Regions from separate parts of the Homo sapiens genome. Here regions 2, 3, 4, 5, 6 and 7 are each linked to region 1. Evidence: promoter capture Hi-C in 16 types of primary human blood cells and fetal thymus (Javierre and others, 2016). All regions are on one chromosome and are shown on one strand. The core of a region is centred on a gene start or on the middle of the fragment in contact, and the rest is flanking DNA. Distances in the headings are between cores, read along the strand shown.

What was found. The method cuts DNA at HindIII sites, captures the fragments that hold promoters and counts their contacts. A CHiCAGO score of 5 or more calls a contact.
Region 2: a contact is called between a fragment that was not itself captured here and the fragment with the promoter of BAZ2B in region 1, in 1 of 17 cell types (megakaryocytes). The highest score is 5.1, in megakaryocytes.
Region 3: a fragment that was not itself captured here is called in contact with the fragment with the promoter of BAZ2B in region 1 in 1 of 17 cell types (erythroblasts); the score reaches 6.8 in erythroblasts.
Region 4: a fragment that was not itself captured here is called in contact with the fragment with the promoter of BAZ2B in region 1 in 2 of 17 cell types (neutrophils and monocytes); the score reaches 10.3 in neutrophils.
Region 5: a contact is called between a fragment that was not itself captured here and the fragment with the promoter of BAZ2B in region 1, in 1 of 17 cell types (megakaryocytes). The highest score is 7.2, in megakaryocytes.
Region 6: a fragment that was not itself captured here is called in contact with the fragment with the promoter of BAZ2B in region 1 in 1 of 17 cell types (neutrophils); the score reaches 6.5 in neutrophils.
Region 7: a fragment that was not itself captured here is called in contact with the fragment with the promoter of BAZ2B in region 1 in 1 of 17 cell types (erythroblasts); the score reaches 6.1 in erythroblasts.

What each region holds. Positions count from the first base shown.
Region 1 is chr2:159,615,221-159,618,061 of GRCh38, forward strand. BAZ2B (bromodomain adjacent to zinc finger domain 2B) reads right to left here and starts at 1,328. Exons shown (of 37, transcript NM_013450.4): 1 at 1,022-1,328. BAZ2B-AS1 (BAZ2B antisense RNA 1) reads left to right here and starts at 74. Exons shown (of 2, transcript NR_110588.1): 1 at 74-233; 2 at 530-2,822. RefSeq lists enhancers at 864-1,390, 1,018-1,097, 1,348-1,417. The HindIII fragment of the contact is 3,593 bases long and covers 1-2,564 here.
Region 2 is chr2:159,165,533-159,168,232 of GRCh38, forward strand. All of the region lies in intron 8 of TANC1 (tetratricopeptide repeat, ankyrin repeat and coiled-coil containing 1), which reads left to right. Among named protein-coding and RNA genes, the nearest start is that of MIR6888, 20 kb to the right of the region's middle. The HindIII fragment of the contact is 3,806 bases long and covers 1-2,700 here.
Region 3 is chr2:159,140,391-159,143,161 of GRCh38, forward strand. The region is part of intron 5 of TANC1 (tetratricopeptide repeat, ankyrin repeat and coiled-coil containing 1); the gene reads left to right. Among named protein-coding and RNA genes, the nearest start is that of MIR6888, 45 kb to the right of the region's middle. The HindIII fragment of the contact is 4,627 bases long and covers 1-2,771 here.
Region 4 is chr2:159,897,396-159,900,129 of GRCh38, forward strand. It overlaps LY75-CD302 (LY75-CD302 readthrough), which reads right to left. Exons shown (of 38, transcript NM_001198760.1): 2 at 1,293-1,664. LY75 (lymphocyte antigen 75) reads right to left here. Exons shown (of 35, transcript NM_002349.4): 2 at 1,293-1,664. Among named protein-coding and RNA genes, the nearest start is that of LY75, 6.0 kb to the right of the region's middle. The HindIII fragment of the contact is 3,516 bases long and covers 1-2,734 here.
Region 5 is chr2:159,274,684-159,277,468 of GRCh38, forward strand. WDSUB1 (WD repeat, sterile alpha motif and U-box domain containing 1) reads right to left here. Exons shown (of 11, transcript NM_001128212.3): 4 at 863-955. Among named protein-coding and RNA genes, the nearest start is that of WDSUB1, 11 kb to the right of the region's middle. The HindIII fragment of the contact is 2,030 bases long and covers 467-2,496 here.
Region 6 is chr2:159,927,786-159,930,485 of GRCh38, forward strand. It overlaps a transcript of PLA2R1 not described here. Among named protein-coding and RNA genes, the nearest start is that of LY75-CD302, 24 kb to the left of the region's middle. The HindIII fragment of the contact is 4,816 bases long and covers 1-2,700 here.
Region 7 is chr2:159,122,985-159,125,684 of GRCh38, forward strand. The region is part of intron 4 of TANC1 (tetratricopeptide repeat, ankyrin repeat and coiled-coil containing 1); the gene reads left to right. Among named protein-coding and RNA genes, the nearest start is that of MIR6888, 62 kb to the right of the region's middle. RefSeq lists enhancers at 603-1,116, 1,117-1,628. The HindIII fragment of the contact is 1,916 bases long and covers 464-2,379 here.

The DNA of each region.
Region 1 (2,841 bases), core at 78-2,577:
AAATCCCAATTCTGGGGTTCGTGAAACTACTTAAAGGGGAGGGAGCCGCGAAAGAGAACGGGGGCTGGGGGGAGGGGTAGCGACAAGAAGATTAAAAGAGGGAAGCAGAGGAGTTGGGAGCTGGCGGTCGTTCCCGGGGAAGAACTGCTAAAACATGAGACCAAGGCACAGACCTTACTGTATGAGAAGCAATGCTCCTCAAACCTTCTGCGTGCTGACATAGACCTTCCCAGGTATCCAGATCTTTTCCCAATCCCACCTGCCCCACCCCCACCCCCGCTCATCTTCAGTAAACTCAGAGCCTCCAGCTACACACGGGAGAGCTAGAGGCCCAAGCCGGGGAGTGGGGGTGGCAGACGCAGCTCGTCAGTCCGACAGGGAAGAGGGGGCGGAGGCAAAAAAGGGCAGCAGGAGGCGGACGGGGGTGGGGGGTGATCCAGAAACTACCCCGGCAGGGAGTGGGGGAGCAGCGGATATTCCGGGGTAGGAACGGCCATCGCAACGCTGACAGAGGTTGTTTTTTAAGAAGCAAAACTGTTGGCGGCGACCTGAGCGCTGGAAGCCGAAGGGGAAGAGGAAGGAGACGCGAAGCCAGGGCGGCCGGCACAAAGGCGGCGGACTCGCGGCGGCAGCGCCTGCCCGGCCGGGAGCACAACCCACGGCCCTACTCCAGCGAAGTCCCGCACCGGCTTCTAGGAATAAAGTTTACGTTCTCCTGAGGCCGCACCCCCCACCTCCCACCCAGGACGGCACATCTCCGTGTCCTCCTCCCCCAAACTCCACTCGGGACCCCGAGAACCACCCCAGCCTTCCGGCCACCACAACAAAGAGCCGCACCGACCGGCGAGGATAAACAGCGGCGGAGGGCGAGAGGGCGGCGGGGCGAGCGCCTCCACGCAGCAACTCCGGAGTCCCCCGCTTGCCCGAGCGCAGTTTCTCCGCTGCTGTTTCCACCGGCTTTGTAACACTGGGAATTTACATCCTCACCCGCACCCCTCACGCCCGAGGATTTTAAACTCACCTTTACTCTCGAACTGAGAGTTGCGGTAGATGGGATTTTTGCCTTTTCCCCAGATGGTTGAAGGTTAAGATTTTTGGAAACCCCACCACCTCCTTATTTCTATTATTATTTCTGCAAGAAAAGTATAAAGAGAGTTGTAGTGGAGGTGAGATTTGTGATCGGGAAAGCCTTCGACTCCCTCCTTCTCCGTCTTCCGCCTCTCTCTCTCTGATTAGTTCCTATCCAGCAGCAGATTGAAGCAGGAGATGATTCTTCTCAAGGTTTGTTCAGCAGCTTCACTTCTAGGCGAAGGCTTCATGAACCAAGTGACGTCAACCAACAAGGCTTCTCTCTCTCTCCTCTCTCTAACAATGAAAGTTGCTGTTAACAAGGGAAAAAAAGAGAGAGAATTGTTTATACCATTTCAGTTCCAATAATAAATGACCTATCAGCTCCTAAAGGAGCCAAGGGAGGGGGTTGCTTCTTCTTTCCAAGAATACTGTAGCTTTGAGTTTGCACCGTTCCTTGTCCCAGGAAAAAGTTAAGAAACTTAAAATGTTTTGTTTTGCTTTTAAAGAAGACAGGACAGAAAACGGGATTTAAAACTTAGTTTTTAAAAAAACAAAAGCTACAGAGTAGGGAGCATAGGTCAACCATCTCCACCTAAATTTTTTTTGTTCCTAAACTCAGAATTCTACAACCCAACTAAATTAATATGCCAAGATTTTGCGGATGTTAAAACTCAAAAAAAGCAGTATGCAAGACGGTCCCGGGGTAAAATTCTACTGCCTTTCCACGGACAAGTTAAACTGGCTGTAATGTTTATGCACTAAGTTAAAATAAAATTTAAATAAAAGACGTTAAAATAGTCGTTTTAAAGTTATATGCACACACTGTAAAAGGTAATCTCGATAGCTTTTTTTCAAGTTTCTGAGAGATTAGAAAAAAAGCATAGCAAATTGTAGGCACTGAACACTTTTTAAAAATCAAGTTATGAGTAAGACTGGTAGCCCTTTGCTCCTTTAAACTACAAATGCAGTCATATGCTATGGTCTACCCCCAGAATCTCTTCCAACTTTGTTTTTACCCTTCCACTCCCCCAACCCCAATTCCCAAATCCTGCAACCAATCAAGTTAAACTAAAGATACAATAGGCCCCATTCCCTCCCGCACCCCATCCTATAGATTCCTAAAAACAATTTTTTTAAAAGCCTTAATCTTGATAACACTTTATTAGCCAAGAAGATACGTATTTTTTTTTTTAGAAGTTCGTTGAGGTACCGTTTTTTCCCTCCAGAACACAAGAAAGTCTCAAAGTTCATATAATTAAAAATTGCATAATTTAATTTTCAGGATGAAGAGTAAGTAAAAATTAAGCTATCGGAGAATAATTTGATCATCTATGTATATTTTATACATATGTGGATAAATGTATCTTAAAAGATGCTATTGTTTTATGTTTCCTCTTCAGCCACTGGCTGTGATTTTAATTGTGCTGGAGGATCTTCATTAGTATTAACACATGGGGAGATTTCACAAAGCTGCTTCATTAGGAAAAAAAAAAAGCTTGGCAGACTCGGTCTTTTTGCATGCACTGAGAATGTCAGCCTTACCTCGGTCATTTGTAACATAATAAGTGCAAGTACAATGATTGCAATGCAGGAGCACTGGGGGAAGGGCAGAAATACTGCCTGTCTAATAGGGATATCTGAAAAGAAGGCTGCTCATTACAGAGTAAAATGTATGCTAAAAATTAGTGAAGATGATGTCTCAGGAGACTGATGCTAAATAAATTAATGTGCTGATATGTTTTTAATTATTATTTTTGTAGTAGTTTATTT
Region 2 (2,700 bases), core at 60-2,559, 450 kb before region 1:
TGAAGTTGAATCTCAGTTAAGAGGAAATGGCAAGATTTTTCAAGTACCATTGAAGAGTAAGATTCAGGTTGTATAGACTCTATGCAGCACTATTTAGTGATTAGAAGGCAGGCTGCTACAAACAGGGCAGCAGAGAACACTCAGTGTTAGAAGAATCAGAATAATATGTGAAGGACCGTATACAGAAATCTCTTAGAAGTATTTGCATGTTATGATCCAGGTAAACAAATTGCCTTTTGGTGGGAAAGGTGTTTTGGCATATGAGGATTGGCAGGTAAAGGAAGGGTGATGCCAGACCTCTGTTCACAGCCTCCTCATGGGGCTGGCCCCTAGGGGATTGGGTGCAGAAGTTCTTCCTAAGGTCCTTTATTGAGCTTGCTACAGAGAATGAAATTGTCTGTTAACCATGTAGTACAGTGACAGGTTTTTTTATTTTTATTTTTTGACAAAGATTATAAAAATAAGTTGGCTAGGTTTAAAGATTATTTCACTATACAGATTTTCTTTGTAAAGATATTTATTAGAGTGGGATTGGTTTGGACAACTATATATCACATCAAAATGCATGACATGGACACCTCTTTCCTTTATTAAAAACAGACCTAGAAGCCTTTAAAGGTATGTTTTAAATCAGAAAGAAGTTGGGTAATGGGTTCTATTTTTTACCTTTCAAAATACTTTCTGAGTGGATTATAGAACACTGTGTTTAATTTTCCAGGAAACAAGCATGATTGCTATCCAGTTTTCCTAAAACTGGTCATTGCCCTGGACTTATTGGCATGGACTTTCCATAGGTTAGACCACAACTTTAGCAAATGTTCTTCTTTGTTCAGCTTAGAGATGTCTCCCTCTGCCTTGCCCCACCAAGCCCACCCTCACCAAAAAACGGACTTTCCTCCACATCTTGAAATGTGCTTCTTATCCAGATGTTAGATATGGTGTGTGTGTGTGTGTGTGCACAACAAGTGTATAATTAATTTCGCTGTAGAGATTCTAGCAGTGGGTTTATTGTAGCATGAAATTATTGCTTTACCTTTGGGTTTTTGGGGCCCTGAGTAGTGTCTAGGATTTTGAAAGCGTTTATGGGTAAATACTGAATGTGAGTCTGACTTTTGCATAGGTAACAACTGAGAATCTACTGTAGGCATGCCTGAGAGGGCAGAGTGGCCCAAGTTACCTGCTCAGAGGGTGGGGAGCACCTGGGCACATAGCTAAGCCACTGAAATCTTCCTGCCCTATTCACTGGCACCTCTATTGGTGGCTTCGAAAATGCCTCAGAAAGCTGAGATAGCTGGCAGGTGGTGGCTTATGGCCCTGCTGCAGCTTTCAGCTCGGCTTAATCGTATTTGAAATTGAGAATCAGCCAAGAGCTGTGGAAGTGCTGAGGCTGCTCTGTTGCAGATTTTGGTGCCGAAGCTCTAGTGGCTGGGAATCTGAAAACAGGCCTGTGGAATCTTAACATCTCCTGTACCTGTTTAGATACAATCTAGGGCATTTTTGCAATCCTTTATTTGGAATGTCTTTTATGGTCACATATTTTTAATCCTTTCAGTTGTTATAAATTTATAAACTGTTCTAAGGAGTCAGGGGAAGAAGGGAAATAGGCAACACTTTTGAGGCTCTAAAGCATCTTTTTATTCTCTAGGGCTGCAGCATTATGTCAGATGTTCATGACTGTTCTGGCTCTGAAATGAATTACGGGTTATGAATATGGCTGCCTGCCCCTTCTACCTGTGCCTTGGTGGGTGCATTCACCATGAGGCATGTGAGGAGAAGGGTCTCAGTGCTCAGGCAGGAGCCTAGAAAATGTTCCAAGCTGTGTTACTGTAGGGAGGTAAGAAGGTTTGGGGAAGACAGTGTAGTCCTGTTAGCCCTCCGGGAGATTTTATACACCCTACTTATGAAGGGCCTAGAGAGAAGCTAGACGCTGTCCTTGGATTACCGTACATTCGATCCATTTAAAATCCCCAACAAGTAATTAGCTGAGTCTTTCTAATGGGAAAGATTTGTGTGGTAGCTGGCAAAGTGCATAGAATATTCACTTAAATGTGTATACACTGTGGATATGCACCAGGAGGATACAGAGGCATAGGTGCATGCTGTCGTGAAGTCAAGGTTTCAGGTGTTTCTTGCTCGCTGGGAGGATGAGTAGGCAGGGCACGTGTTGGATTGCCCTTTGGAGGATGCAGCGAGAGGGGATATGCCAACACAGTCAGGCCTGGAGCCACCCAGGTGGCTGTTGAATGAAGGAATGAGAGAGGATGATATGGATAGTGAGGAAGAGAAGGACTGAGATCTTAGTAGGGGGAAATGGAAGGGTGCAGGTAGGACGGATGGCACTGGTCGGCAGCTGGATGCTGGGTCAGAGCCTGTTGGGCAGCCAGAGGGTTTTCAGAAGACAGATGGCCCAACTCGACTTCTGTCCCCTGCACCTTGGTCCCACTGAAGATGTCCCCAGTGCTAAGAAGGCTTTACCCAGGCACTATGTCTCCCTCTAGGCTCTCATTTGCCCTCAAGTCACTGTATATTTTCTTGTCCTGAAAGATAATAATCTGACTAAGATCAACAGTACTTCATGTTGGGCTTAACCCATAAACCAAATTAGGTTAATTTTAGATTTTCCTCAATGTAATAACAGGAGGGGTTTTTAAAAGGCAAAAACGTGTACTATGTACTTGCTTCTAAGATTTCTTGAGAATT
Region 3 (2,771 bases), core at 100-2,599, 470 kb before region 1:
GGAAGTATAGAAAAGGGGCATACCTGGTATGTGTGCACAGAAGAGAGACTCTTGGAAGTAGAGTATCCATTCATTCTGCATTTCCTTGAATAAGTATTCAGTTTCTATGCTGTGAAAAAACACTATGCTAAATGCTATTTGAGATGGGTTATCAAGCATGGGTCCTGTCTTTATGGAGCCTTAGAGTCTGGCAGGGGATTAGAGACCTGTATATGGCGTGACTGTAATAAAGGAGGAAGTAATGACTAATCCAAGCTGTGTGATGAACTAGGAGTTCAGCAGATGGAGATTCTCTATTTTTTTTTTTTTTTTTTTTTGAGATGGAGCTTCATTCTTGTTGCCCAGACTGGAGTGCAGTGGCACAGTCTCGGCTCACTGCAACCTCTGCCTCCTGGGTTCAAGCGATTCTTTTGCCTCAGCCTCCCGAGTAGCTGGGATTACAGGCACCCACCGCCACACCCGGCTAATTTTTGTATTTTTAGTAGAGACAGAGTTTTGCCATGTTAGCCAAGCTGGTCTCAAACTCCTGACCTCAGGTGACCCACCCGCCTTGGCCTCCCAAAGTGCCAGGATTACAAGTGCGAACCACTATGCTTGGCCAGCAGATGGAGATTCTGAGCATGGAAAGACTTAATTGTAGCTATGCCTTAAGATTTACCTGTTGTCTTAGTTCAGGCTGCTATAACAAAAATACCATAAACTGAGTGGTTGATAAACAACAGTAATTTATTTCTTAGATTTGTGCAGGATGGAAAGTCCAAGATCAAGGTAGTCTGCAGATTTGGGGTCTGGCAAAGGCCTACTTGCTGGTTCATAGACAGCCATCTTTTTGCTGTAACCTCATGTAGTGGAAGGGACAAACAAGCTCCCTCATTTATAAGGTCACTAATCCCATTCTGAGACACAGACATTCAGACTATAGTACGTGGCAACAGAGTAGGATGGAGTGGGACTGGAAAGAGACTACGGTTAAGAATGATTAAAAAATTGTTTTAGTAATTAAGTGAGAGGATAAAGTCTCAAATTAGTTCAGGTTCAGTGAAGAAGAGGTGGTGAATGGAAGATTCTTGAGGAATTGCAAGGACCTGGGAACTGAAAAAGACAGAGACAACAACTTCACGCCTTTGAGACCACATTAAGGGACACTGGAGGAGCAGGGACTGTGTTTTGGTTTGAGTTCAGTTTCAGGCATGGAGACTTCAAAGTGCTGGTGGAACATCTTCGCAAGTGTCCAGCCACCAGTTGGAAAATCAAACTGGGTATCAAGAAAGAGCTCAGGATATAAACTGGTCAGCCATTTGCTTGGAAGTAATGCTGTGAGACTAGGCAAGTTACAGTAGGGAAACAGGTCGTTGACAAAAGAGGGCTGAGAAACTGGTATTTCATTTATGAGCTGGGACTAAGGTGCAAGGAGCACCAGCAAGAGGGACAGGAAAAGACCACACAAGACCACAGTATTCTGGTAATCATGGATTTTTCCCTCTGTGTGTCTCTTACAACAATTGCCACTTTATACCTTGCAGGACAGAGTGCTTGCAAGGCCGTAGATCTACAGGAAAATCAAAAGAGAAGGTGTACTACAAAAAAGGAAAAAGAAAAATTAATGTGCTTAACAGGGCTGTTTCAGGAGACTTGTGAAGGTCTGTGACTTGAAGTTATAGGTATGTGATAAGGAAATGGAATTGGTGAGAATAGAGAGCCCTCTTTTACCCCCAAATTAAACAGATAAAGATGGGAGATCAGTTACTAGGATGAGAGATGTGTGCAGCTGTGGTTTTTATTTAACACAGTTGTAGACTTAATTCAGAGGTTCTGACAGTGTAGGCTGTGGACTTCTAGTCCCCAAGACACTTTCAGGGGTTTGTGATGTCAAAACTCTTTATAATAGTACAAAACCCTTTTGTAATAATACGGAGAAGGTATTTACATTTCCCTTTGTTGACATTTGCACTGATGCTGCAAAAGCAATTGTTGGTAAAACTTCTGATACCTTAGTATATGTCAAGGCACTGGCTACACTGGTAGTCCTGGTGTTCTTCACTGCCAAGTGCTGGCTTCACAAATAATTCACTGAAGAATGTCCTTGATGAAGCACTAAAAGTAATGTTATTAAATCTTGACCCTTGGAGACCCATCTTTTTAATATTCTGTGTGATGAAGTGGGAAGTCTGAGTAAAGCCCTTCTGCATGCTCGGAAGTCTGATGGTTTTCTTGAGGCAGAGCACTTGTATGATTGAATTGCAAGCTGAACTCGCTACTTTTAAAATGGAATATTGTTTTTATTTGAAAGAATGACTGACAACCCATGGTTATTCTGAAGTAGGTATTTGGCACATTTTTTCTTCAACAGGAATGAAATTAGCCTGGCACTTCAATAGAAAAAAAAAAAAAGGCCAGGCACGATGGCTGACACCTGTAATCCTAGCAATTTGGGAGGCCAAGGCGGGCGGATTGCCTGAGGTCAGGAGTTTGAGACCAGCCTGGCCAACATGGTGAAACCTTGTCTCTACTAAAAATACAAAACTAACTGGGCATGGTGGTGGGCACCTGTAATCCCAGCTACTCGGGAGGCTGAGGCAGGAGAATTGCTTGAACCCAGGAGTTGGTGGTTGCTGTGAGCCAAGATTGCACCACTGCACTCCAGCCTGGGCCACAGAGCGAGACTCTGTCTCAAAAAAAAAAAAAAAACAACAAAACAAAACAAAAAAAAACAAAAAACCAACTCTGACAGGATTAGTTGCCCATAATAAAACTTGACATTTCAAATGAAA
Region 4 (2,734 bases), core at 27-2,526, 280 kb after region 1:
CAACTGCTTTACTTTTAGGAGGAAACTGGCTCGCAGAAACAGACTGTCAACTATTCAAAGGCCAGGGAATGATGAAAAGGAAACCCTATCTCTAATTCTCTAATATTTCTCCACAACAGAACTTGACATTCTCAGAATAATTCTTGCATCCTCACTAGGAAATAGAAAGCTAGAAAGAAAAACTTGTGCAGATGGATAATGGAAAGTATGGGAGCAAGCTGCTATAGTGACTTTGAGGCCAAATTTAGCTTAAATGATCTTTAAGAGAAGAAGAAAGCCACTGTAAAGCTAGGGAAATTTGTAAAGAAAGGCAAGGGGAAATAATAGGACTTAGAGGACATAATTATATGCATATCGACATTTGGTGTAATTTAGAGCAACATAATGAAAAATATTTGCTTGGGAGATAGCTAATTACATTTAATGGTTAAAAAAATAAATCTACTCATTCTTTAACTTAGAAATTAGTTGCAATCCAGTCCCTAGACTCAGGGCTAAGTCCATGGTCCGCTCCCCGCAAGGCAATATTAATATACTTATTTTCGGAAGCAACTGAAAAACTCCACTCTTAAAATGCTGAATCATAAATATAAACATCAAAATTTGGTTGCCATGCAAAAATGAAAATAAATAAGAAAATCCACTCAAAATTTTCCCATTTTATTCAAAATCCGTAGGCAAGAAAAAATATATTTTTCCTCCTTCTCCTTCTTTTCTTTTTTAAGGATGGGTGTCTCACTATGTTGCCCAGGCTGAAGTGCAGTGGCTATTCACAGGCGTGATCATTACACACTACAGCCTTGAACTCCTGTGTGCTCAAGTGATCCTGCTGCCTCAGTCTCTCGAGAAGCTGGGACCGCAACCATGCACCACTACGCCTGACCTTTCTTCTTCTTTTAAAACTTAGAATAAGATCAACATTATTAGATCATTTGACTTTTAGCCTGTACAAATCTAATGATTCCTTTCCTCTAGGGTTTCCTTTCCTCTAGGGTTTAGAAGACCATCATAAGAAGTACATATCTATCTGATGAAATCCCAGGTTTATCACAACATGGCTGTGTGACCTCAGACAAGGCACTTTATCTCTCTTAGCCTTACCTGCAAAGTAGAGGCAAATACCATGGACTTGTAAGAATGTCGCTCAAAGTAACTGCACAGTGCCTGGAAGTGAAGAGCTTACTCACTGCCCTTACTAATGTACGACTCTATTTTTACTAAATTGTGCATGTTTAATGCCACATGTGACAAGCACAACAGCAAATCGGTCAAAGTCCCTCTCTAATACTCACCATGATAAGGCTGGTCACAAAGGCTTTCCTCTGAGCCTCCTTTCTTCCAGACATCAGATGCATTTGAGATTGCTGTGCCATGTCCATCCTTCAGAGCCAGCCGGTACCGGGCAGCTCCGTACAGAGAGTGGTGCTCACATTTCCACCACAGCATGGCACTGGAGTCACAGCTGAACATTCTCAGCTCATTTACCGATTTGGTAATATCGAGGCCAAGGCACTTTTGGGAGTGCAAATGAAAGAGCCGATGCTGGGACACCCACTTCCATAACTTGTCCTCAGTTTCATCACAGTCGTCTGCTACTATCCAGCCATACACTGGCTTGATGCACTTGCCCGTATTTCCATGGACGATGGTGAAGGGGTCATTAGCTGAGTCAAATGGACAGACAGATTGTAGATTATGTGGTTGAAGCGCCTTGCTCCCTGCCTGCTGAGGAGAGTCTGAGCACTACTGGACTGTTCCCATCCTCAGTCTGTTCCCACTCTTTTTAAGCTGCAGGGGACTACAAAAGGTGGGACAGTGGTGAGCAGAGAGGCAGTGCAGTGTGTAGGGTCAGAACACGGGCTCTGGAGCCAGTCCGCCTGGGTCCATATTTTGCTCCTGCTACTTGTTAGCCATAGGATCAGGGCAAATCATTTAACCTCTGTGCTCCAGTTTTCATATGATGGTTGTGAGCATGAAAGGAGCTAATCCATGTAAAGCGTGTAGAGTAGCATGTATATTTGTTGTTGCTATTTCATGAAAGATTTTTCCCTTCTCATTTAATAAGACAAAAGAAGCTCTTTAGTTTTCATCTCAATGAAAAGTCTAGTTGGGACCATAATTCTGCCTTGCTTACATGTTAGCTACTACGGCAGGGTAAATTATTACATGAAAAGTCGATGCTTAACACAGCATGTGCACTATATATATGTTCCTTTCTTCAGATCCAAGTACATAGTGAGGCCTCTGTGCTCCTCTGCCTTAGGGCAAGTTAGTGGGGCCACTAAAAAGGAAAACTTAAGGACAATTTTCTTAAAGACCACTTCCCCCTAGATATTTTTTGGAGACCTAAATTCATTGAGGTATCTCAGAGGAAATGGGGAAATTTCTGAGGGAGCAGCAGAACAGTGGGGTACAGAAACAAGAAGAAACAGAGGTCTGGGTTCTGAGGGTAGAACCTGTGGCCAGCTCCACTGTGGCAGTTTCATTGTCCTCAGTTTCATCACAGTCGTCTGCAACTATCCAGCCATACACTGGCTTGTGGCACCCTCAGGAAGGCGACAGGGCCTGGGGAAAGCCTGGGGGGATTGACAGTGTGGATCACCTAAGAAGGCTGAACCCCAAACTCCAGGAACTACCAAAGTGATGGCTGATGAGTCTTGAGCCACCAGATACAAGATCCTGTGGGTTTGGACAATGGAAAACCCAGAGGTAACCAGCGGGATCCAATGACTAA
Region 5 (2,785 bases), core at 232-2,731, 340 kb before region 1:
CCTCCTCATCCTAGAGGGAAGCCAGCAATAACGAACCACTTCTGTGCACAGAGCTTCTAAACATTGTCTAATTCTTAAATGCAAACAGAGTACTAAGCAAAAAGGGGACTCAACTGCAAACAAAGATCAGAAAACAGAAGGGAACTTAAAGCAAAAACTCCTAAATGACATCCTGAGAGTTTTGAGATCTTACATTTATAAAGGACACTATGAAAAGAAAACAAAGAAGATGGTGAGCTTTTAGAATCTGAAAATATGATTAATGCGATAAAACATTCAAAAAAAGGTTAAGACAAAAAGCAGAGAAATTTTCCCCTAAAGTACAAGAAAAGAGAGAGAAATGTGGGGGATAAAAAAAGAGAATCAATTCAGGAGGCCCAACATTCAATTAATGGAAGTTGTAAAAAGAGAGATGAATTAAAGAAATAACATAACGGAATAGTTTATTCCAAAACTGTACAAAATAAGCTTCCTGACTGAAAGGGTCACCTGATGGAATAGTACAATGGATGGGAAAAGACCCACACACTAACAAAAAGCAGTACCTACAGTGAATAAATAAAAAAATGTAGTGGTATAAACAGTGTTTACAGAAACTGTGAAAACCACAAAGGAGTTGAAATCAAGTGCAAAGTGGTCACCTCTGGTGAGCAGAAATGTGCATGGCAGTAGAATGGGTGAGGTCATGATCATCAATGAGCATCTGATTTTTAAATCATGTGTATTATTTTGACTAAAAGTTTCTTAAACCATATTTTAATACTTACTTTTAGATACTCAAGGTACCTTAAGTAAAAAGATTAAATAGAAATTTTATCCAGACCACAAATAATTTTAGAGAAGCACTATTTGGCATACATACCTAAGATATGGGTAAAAGAAACAATCCAAATTTTGACTTGGCAATCCTGACCACATGATGCCAGTCGAAAAAACTGAAGACCTTGTTCTCCATCTAAAATTTATTAAAAATAAATACAGAGAATTTGTAAAACACTGAAACCCCCCCAAAATTCCCATTTCTTATACTAAGATCTATTAATTCTACTCATTTAAACCATGTTCACAAGTTATTAGTTAACTTATATCATTTAACAAAATGCTGATTAAAGAATTTCTTTTAAACAAGGTACTATGTGGGATTATTAGTCCTCAAGTTGCTACAAAAAAATACCTTTCATTTTCCTTCCTCAAAGAATAGAACTCAAGGCTGCAAGGACCAATATTGAGCCACTCAATAGAGCATCCTCCTCTAACTCAATTTGAGAGTCTATGAGGCTAGCACTGATAGGAAAAATCAGGAAGAAAAGTCAGTTACTTTGAGAGTGTTAAATGTTTAATCATTCCTAACCTTTTTTTAAGGTCATAGCAATTTCTTCCTTTTTTTTTTTTTGAGATGGAGTCTCGCTCTGATGCCCAGGCTGGAGTGCAGTGGTGCGATCTTGGCAGCTCACCGCAACCTCCACCTCCCAGGTTCAAGCAATTCTCCTGCCTCAGCCTCCCAAGTAGCTGAGATTACAGGCATGTGCCACCACACCCGGCTAATTTCTGTGTTTTTAGTAGAGACGGGGTTTCCCCATATTGGCCAGGCTGGTCTTGAACTCCTGACCTTGCAATCCGCCTGCCTCAGCCTCCCAAAGTGCTGGGATTACAGGCGTGAGCCACTGCACTGGCCTAAAGTCATATCAATTTCTTAAAAGCCTGATCTATAGTTCACATGGAATAATAATGGGAATTTTTTTCCATCTGATTTAATCAAGCCAAAGGCTGGAATTATAGAAATCAAAAATAACATCAATTCACTCCATTTGGTTGAAAATATTATATTATTTAGGGAAAGTAATCAGTTATATGGTGTCCCAGAAGAGCTACTACATTACACTTACTTAATTTTAGTGTATCATTATATATCTACTAAAGTTCCTAAACAATTTTGGATAATGTAAATATTGACATCATCAATGCAATTTTATACAAGTTGCACCTAATATCACAAGTAGTTTCATCAAGTAAGTTTTGGCACTCATATGCAGTAAAGCACAATTAAGAAATTGAGGCTGGGCATGGTGGCTGAAGTCTGTAATCCCAGCACTTTGAGAGGCTGACACCAGGAGTTTGAGACCAGGCTAGGAAAGATGGTAAGACCCTGTCTCTACAAAAAATTTTTTTAAATTAGCCGGGTGTGGTGGCACACATCTGTAGTTGTAGCTACTTAGGAGGCCGAGGCAGGGGATCTCCTTGAGCCCAGGAGTTTGAGGCTGCAGTGAGCTATGATCACACCACTGCACTCTAGCCTGGATGACGGAGCAAGACCCTGTCACCAAAACAGAAATCTAATATCCATCTTAAGATTGTACTCTGGCTTAACAAATTTTCAGTATATAAAATTTAACAAACGTGTACACCTGGGCATGTAAATTTTTTCTATGGACTCTGCCTCTTTGAAAGTACAAACACTTTACTAACGAACAACAAATTAAATTCCATTTCACTGAAAGCTTTTTTAACTCCATGGGACTTCCATATTTCAATAGCATTTTTGTTTCTTTCTGTAGCATAGATTTACCCAAAATATATCCTTTCTAAGAGAGATCTTGAGGGATACAGGCAATTCCTGATAATCACTGTCTTTTTAAGACAAAACATTTTATTCAATAAATGGCTGAGAGCAAAATATTTCTGTATTAGACCTAATTAGCAACGCTATTTGTTTCTTAACTAAATAGATCCTTTGAAGTTAATTCTGAAGTTCTCTAAGTAGTGAAAATTCAGCTAAGACAATGGA
Region 6 (2,700 bases), core at 1-2,500, 310 kb after region 1:
CTCCTTTCTTGCAGTGTTCTGGGGTCAGTCACACTGCAAGACACCCAGATCAGAACTGGGAATCATGAGATTAGTTCTCATGTATTGCCACAAATTAGCCATGTATTACTGGTGAAATCAAAGAATATTTCTAAGTCTTGCTTTTGTCATCTGTAAAACTGTGCTTAAAACAGATTTGTGATCTCTCAAATACTACCATGTAATAAGAGAGATGAGAGCTGGTAGAAGTGGCCTAGTTGTCTTCAAAGAAAAGGAAGGCTGTGTGGAGATGGACTGGAACTTAAAGATGACCATTATGTCTCAGGCCTGGTTCCTGGTTTCAAGCCACAGAAACATACTCTTTTCTGGTCCAGGGGATGCCATGCTTTGGCTTACTCAACTAAACACCTGCAAAAGCTGAGGTAGATGTCGTAATGCCAATATATGACTGTTCTGCCATCTAAGAAAGCCTGGTGTCCCTGTTGTGGAATCACTGCACCATGACAAGTTCCTCAGGTCTAGACCCCCTTTCTGGTGAGACTGCCCACACCTATGCACCTCCTACAGCAATGTTCCAGAGCTGCCACTGCCCAAACAAAATCATACATGAGACTGAGGAGGACATCACAATGTCAGTTTATTAATTTACAAGGAGAAATAAAATGTTTAGGAATATACTTAACCAAGGAGGTGAAAGACCTCTACAAGGAAAGCTATAAAACACTGCTGAAAGAAAGCATACATGACACAAACGAATGGGAACACATACCATGTTCATGGATAGGTGGAATCAATATTGTGAAAATGACCATACTGCCAAAAGCAATCTACAAATTCAATGCATTTCCCATCAAAATACTACCATAATTCTTCACAGAACTAGAAAAAAAATCCTAAAATTCATATGGAACCAAAAAAGAACCCACATAGCCAAAGCAAGACTAAGCAAAAAGAACAAATCTGGAAGCATCACATTATCTGACTTCAAACTATAAGGCCATAGTCACCAAAACAGCATGGTACTGGTATAAAAATAGTCACATAGACCAATGGAACAGAATAGAGATCTCAGAAATAAAGCCAAATACTTACAGCCAACTGATCTTCAACAAAGCAAACAAAAACATAAAGTGGGGAAAGGACACTCCACTCAACAAATGGTTCAGGGATAATTGGCAAGCCACATGTAGAAGAATGAAACTGGATCCTCATCTCTCACCTTATACAAAAATCAACTCAAGATGAATCAAGGACTTACATCTAAGACTTGAAACCATAAACATTCTAGAAGATAACATTGGAAAAACCCTTCTAGACATTGGCTTAGGCAAAGACTTCATGACCAAGAACCCAAAAGCAAATGCAACAAAAACAAAGATAAATAGACAAGACTTAATTAAACTAAAGAGCTTCTGCACAGCAAAAGAAACAATCAGCAGAGTACACAGACAACCTACAGAGTGGGAGAAAATCTTCACAATATATACATCTGACAAAGGACTAACATCCAGAATCGACATGGAACTCAAACAAATTAGCAAGGAAAAAACAATCCCACCAAAAAGTGGACTAAGGACATGAATACACAATTCTCAAAAGAAGATACACAAATGGCCAACAAACATATGAAAAAATGCTCGACATCACTGATGATCAGGGGAAATGCAAATTGAAACCATAATGTGATACCACTTTACTCCTGCAAGAATGGCCATAACCAAAAAAATATAAAAAAATAGATGTTGGTGTGGATGTGGTGAAAAGGGAACACTTTTACACTGCTGGTGGGAATGTAAACTAGTACAACCACTATGGAAAACAGTGTGGAGATTCCTTTAAGAACTAAAGGTAGAACTACCATTCGATCCAGCAATCCCACTACTGGCTGTCTACCCAGAGGAAAAGATGACATTATACCAAAAAGATAACTTGTACACGCATGTTCATAGCAGCACAATTCGCAATTGCAAAAATGTGGGACCAGCCCAAATGCCCATCAATCAATGAGTGGATAAAGAAATTGTATATGTATATGTATATATCTATATGTATATGTATATATATGTGCATGTATATGTATTATATATTTGTGTGTGTGTGTGTGTGTGTATATATATATATATGAATACTAATCAGCCATAAAAAGGAATGAAATAATGGCATTCGCAGTGACCTGGATGGAATTGGAGACAATTATTCTAAGTGAAGTCACTCAGGAATGGAAAACCAAACGTCGTATGTTCTCACTCATAAGTGGGAGCTAAGCTATGAGGACCCAAAGGCATAAGAATGATATGATGGACTTTGGGGACTCAGGGGGAAGGGTGGGAGAGAGATGAGGGATAAAAGACTACACATTGGTGGCCAGGCGCGGTGGCTCACGCCGGTAATCCCAGCACTTTGGGAGGCCAAGGCGGGTGGATCACGAGGTCAGGAGATCGAGGCCATCCTGGCTAACACGGTGAAACCCCGTCTCTACTAAAAATACAAAAAATTAGCCAGGCATGGTGGCACGCGCCTGTAGTCCCAGCTACTTGGCAGGCTGAGGCAGGAGAATGGCGTGAACCTGGGAGGCAGAGCTTGCAGTGAGCAGGGATTGTGCCACTACACTCCAGCCTGGGAGACAGAGCGAGACTCCGTCTCAAAAAAAAAAAAAAAGACTACACATTGGTTACAGCGTACACTGCTTGCATGATGGGTGCACCAAAAATCTCAGAAATC
Region 7 (2,700 bases), core at 172-2,671, 490 kb before region 1:
TGATCCATAGCTAATCTTTGGACCTAATCTGATTAAACTCATAAATCCTATTAAGAGCAACAGTGCTTACAGGTATTTCTCTAGAGACAATTGCGTTCTGCATCTCTGTTCCCTGTTCTTGCCCTTGATCTCTGCACCCTGATCTTGGCCCATGAGTGCAGGTAGAGGATTCGCTGTGTGTGGATGTATGCAGATGCATGCCAGAGCAGGTAGGTGTGAGGATGGGGCTGAAGAATTTCCTTCAGGTGCTCCCTTCCGATGGTGATTTTTTTCTGTATAGGGCGAAGGGTGGAGTGTGTATGTGCGTGTATTAGATTTGTTGGAGAAGGCTGGGATAGTCTTGACCTGGTCACTGTGGAGGATGGAAAGAGAGAGTGCTATTGAGTGAGACATAGGACTGCTCTGCCTTCACCCTCTCCTGGCTGGTTAGGGAGGGGTCGTGGAGCACCTTCTAATCAGTGGAAGCTTTCAAGGGACTGGGCTGGGACCCACGCTCCCCTCACCCCACCTCAACCCCTCCAACACCTCCCCATATCTCCCTTCTCACATTCCTCCCCTTACTTCTGAATCTCCTGCCCTGACAGAAATGAAATGGAATTCTGTGGTAGCCACTGTACTGAGTAAATATTGGAGAAGACATTCCCAAATTACAGGATTTCTTAGAAGTTACTAATTTATAGCAAATGAGTATAATTTACTTAAAAAGCAGAAATAAACTTTTTCTTATTGAAATATATATTTGTGCCCCACCTGAGTACATAGCTCTGTGCTAAACACTGTAAAGAAGCTAAACAGAGACAAAGTTCTCTTCCTCCAACTGCTTTTACTTCGTTTAGGAAATGGAAAGAGTAAAACCCCCTGCCTCCCACCTCTGTGGTCCCATTCAGTGACGCCAGTCTCCCCTCGTGCCCCCAGCCTCAGGTACAGCTCAATCGCTGCCTTCCTCCCTCCCGCTGCTGTTTTTCCCAAGTCATTTAACATCATACTGTTTTGTCTTCATACTTGAATTTTGAGCTTTCTTGGGCTGTGGGCAAGGTCTTGCATAGCTACTCCAGACAGGCCGTGCCAGTGGGTTTCAAACTTGAGTGGGAGGCCAGGTGAGGTGGCTCACACCTATAATCCCAGCACTTTGGGAAGCTGAGGCGGGCGGATCATTTGAGGTCTGGTGTTCGAGACCAGCCTGGCCAACATAGTGAAACCCTGTCTCTACTAAAAATACAAAAATTAGCCGGGTGTGGTGGTGCCTGTCTGTAGGAGGCTGAGGCATAAGAATCACTTGAACCTGGGAGGCAGAGGTTGCAGTGAGCTGAGATCGCACCACTGCACTCCATCCTGGGCGACGGAACGAGATTTTGTCTCAAAAACAAAAAACAAGCCTGAGTGGGGCATCGGAATCACTCTGTGGTCTGGGGAGGGGCTGAGAATTTGCATGTCTAATAAGTTCGCAGGTGATGCTGTTGCTGTTGGTCCAGGGGCTGGTCTGAACCCACAGGGAAAGAAAATTCTCAAGGATCCTGCCTTCCTTTTGGAGTCAGTTACTTCAGGCAGTGGAGGGCTCACTTCCTCCTTGTGCAAACAACAGAAGAGCCCTGTGGCTTAAGGCCTACTTCCTGAGTTCCTTAGACAAACTCTGAAATTAGCCATTCTAGGAAGATCGATCTTTCCTCCAGGGATATCTTTAAATCAAAGTTTGTGGTTGTTCAATTGTTTGTAGCTATTTTCTTAACCATTCCTACAAAGCTAAGGAAATCAGCTGCATTTTTTTTTTTTCCAGAGACAGGGCCTCATTTTATCACCCAGACTGGAGTACAGTAGCATGAGCATGACTCACTGCAGCCTCGACTTGTGTGATCCTCCCGCCTCAGCTCTCCCCACCCCCCGCCCTCCTCACCAAGTACAGGCACGCACCACCATGCCCAGCTAATTTTTGTATTTTTTTGTAGAGATGGAGTTTCACCATGTTTCCCAGGCTGGTCCTGAACTCCTGGGCTCAAGTGATCCTCCCACCTCAGCCTCACAAAGTGCTGGGATTTCAGGCGTGAGCCACCATGCCCAGCTGGTATTAGATTCTTTATGGCACATTGTAATTACTACCAAAAGTCAGAGGAAGTAAGAGCTAGAGATTTCCTCCTTGTGAGCTCACAACCAGGCATGAATGAAAATAAGGCTTAGGTGGAGTTCTGCCCATACAGATTTATTAGTAGGCTGTCACAGCACAGCCACACAACCTGCTTTATACGCCTGGTGAGGCTCCAGCTTTGTCCTTTTCAGGAGTCTGCTCTGACAGCAGCTTGCATTTGGTGTTTACCTGTAGCACATGAGACAGTGTTTCATAGACATTATGTCAGTGTTTTATTGCTGCCCTGAGAAATTACTACAAGCTTATCTTAAATCTATTATCTCACAATTCTTTAGGACAGAAGTCCAGGCACATCTGGCTCTCTTCTCTAGGTTTCCTTAGGCCAAAATCAAGACGGTAGCAGGGTGGTGTTCTGTTAAGGCTCAGGGGATGAACCACTTCCAGGCTCATTCAGGAGGGCAGAATTCAGTTCCATGTGACTGTAGGACTGAGGTCCCCATTCCTTCCTTCCTCCCTCCCTCCCTTCCTTCCTTCCTTCCTTTTTTGACAGAGTCTTACTCTGTTGCCCAGGCTGGAGTGCAGTGTCGTGATCTCGGCTCACTGCAACCTCCGACTCCCGG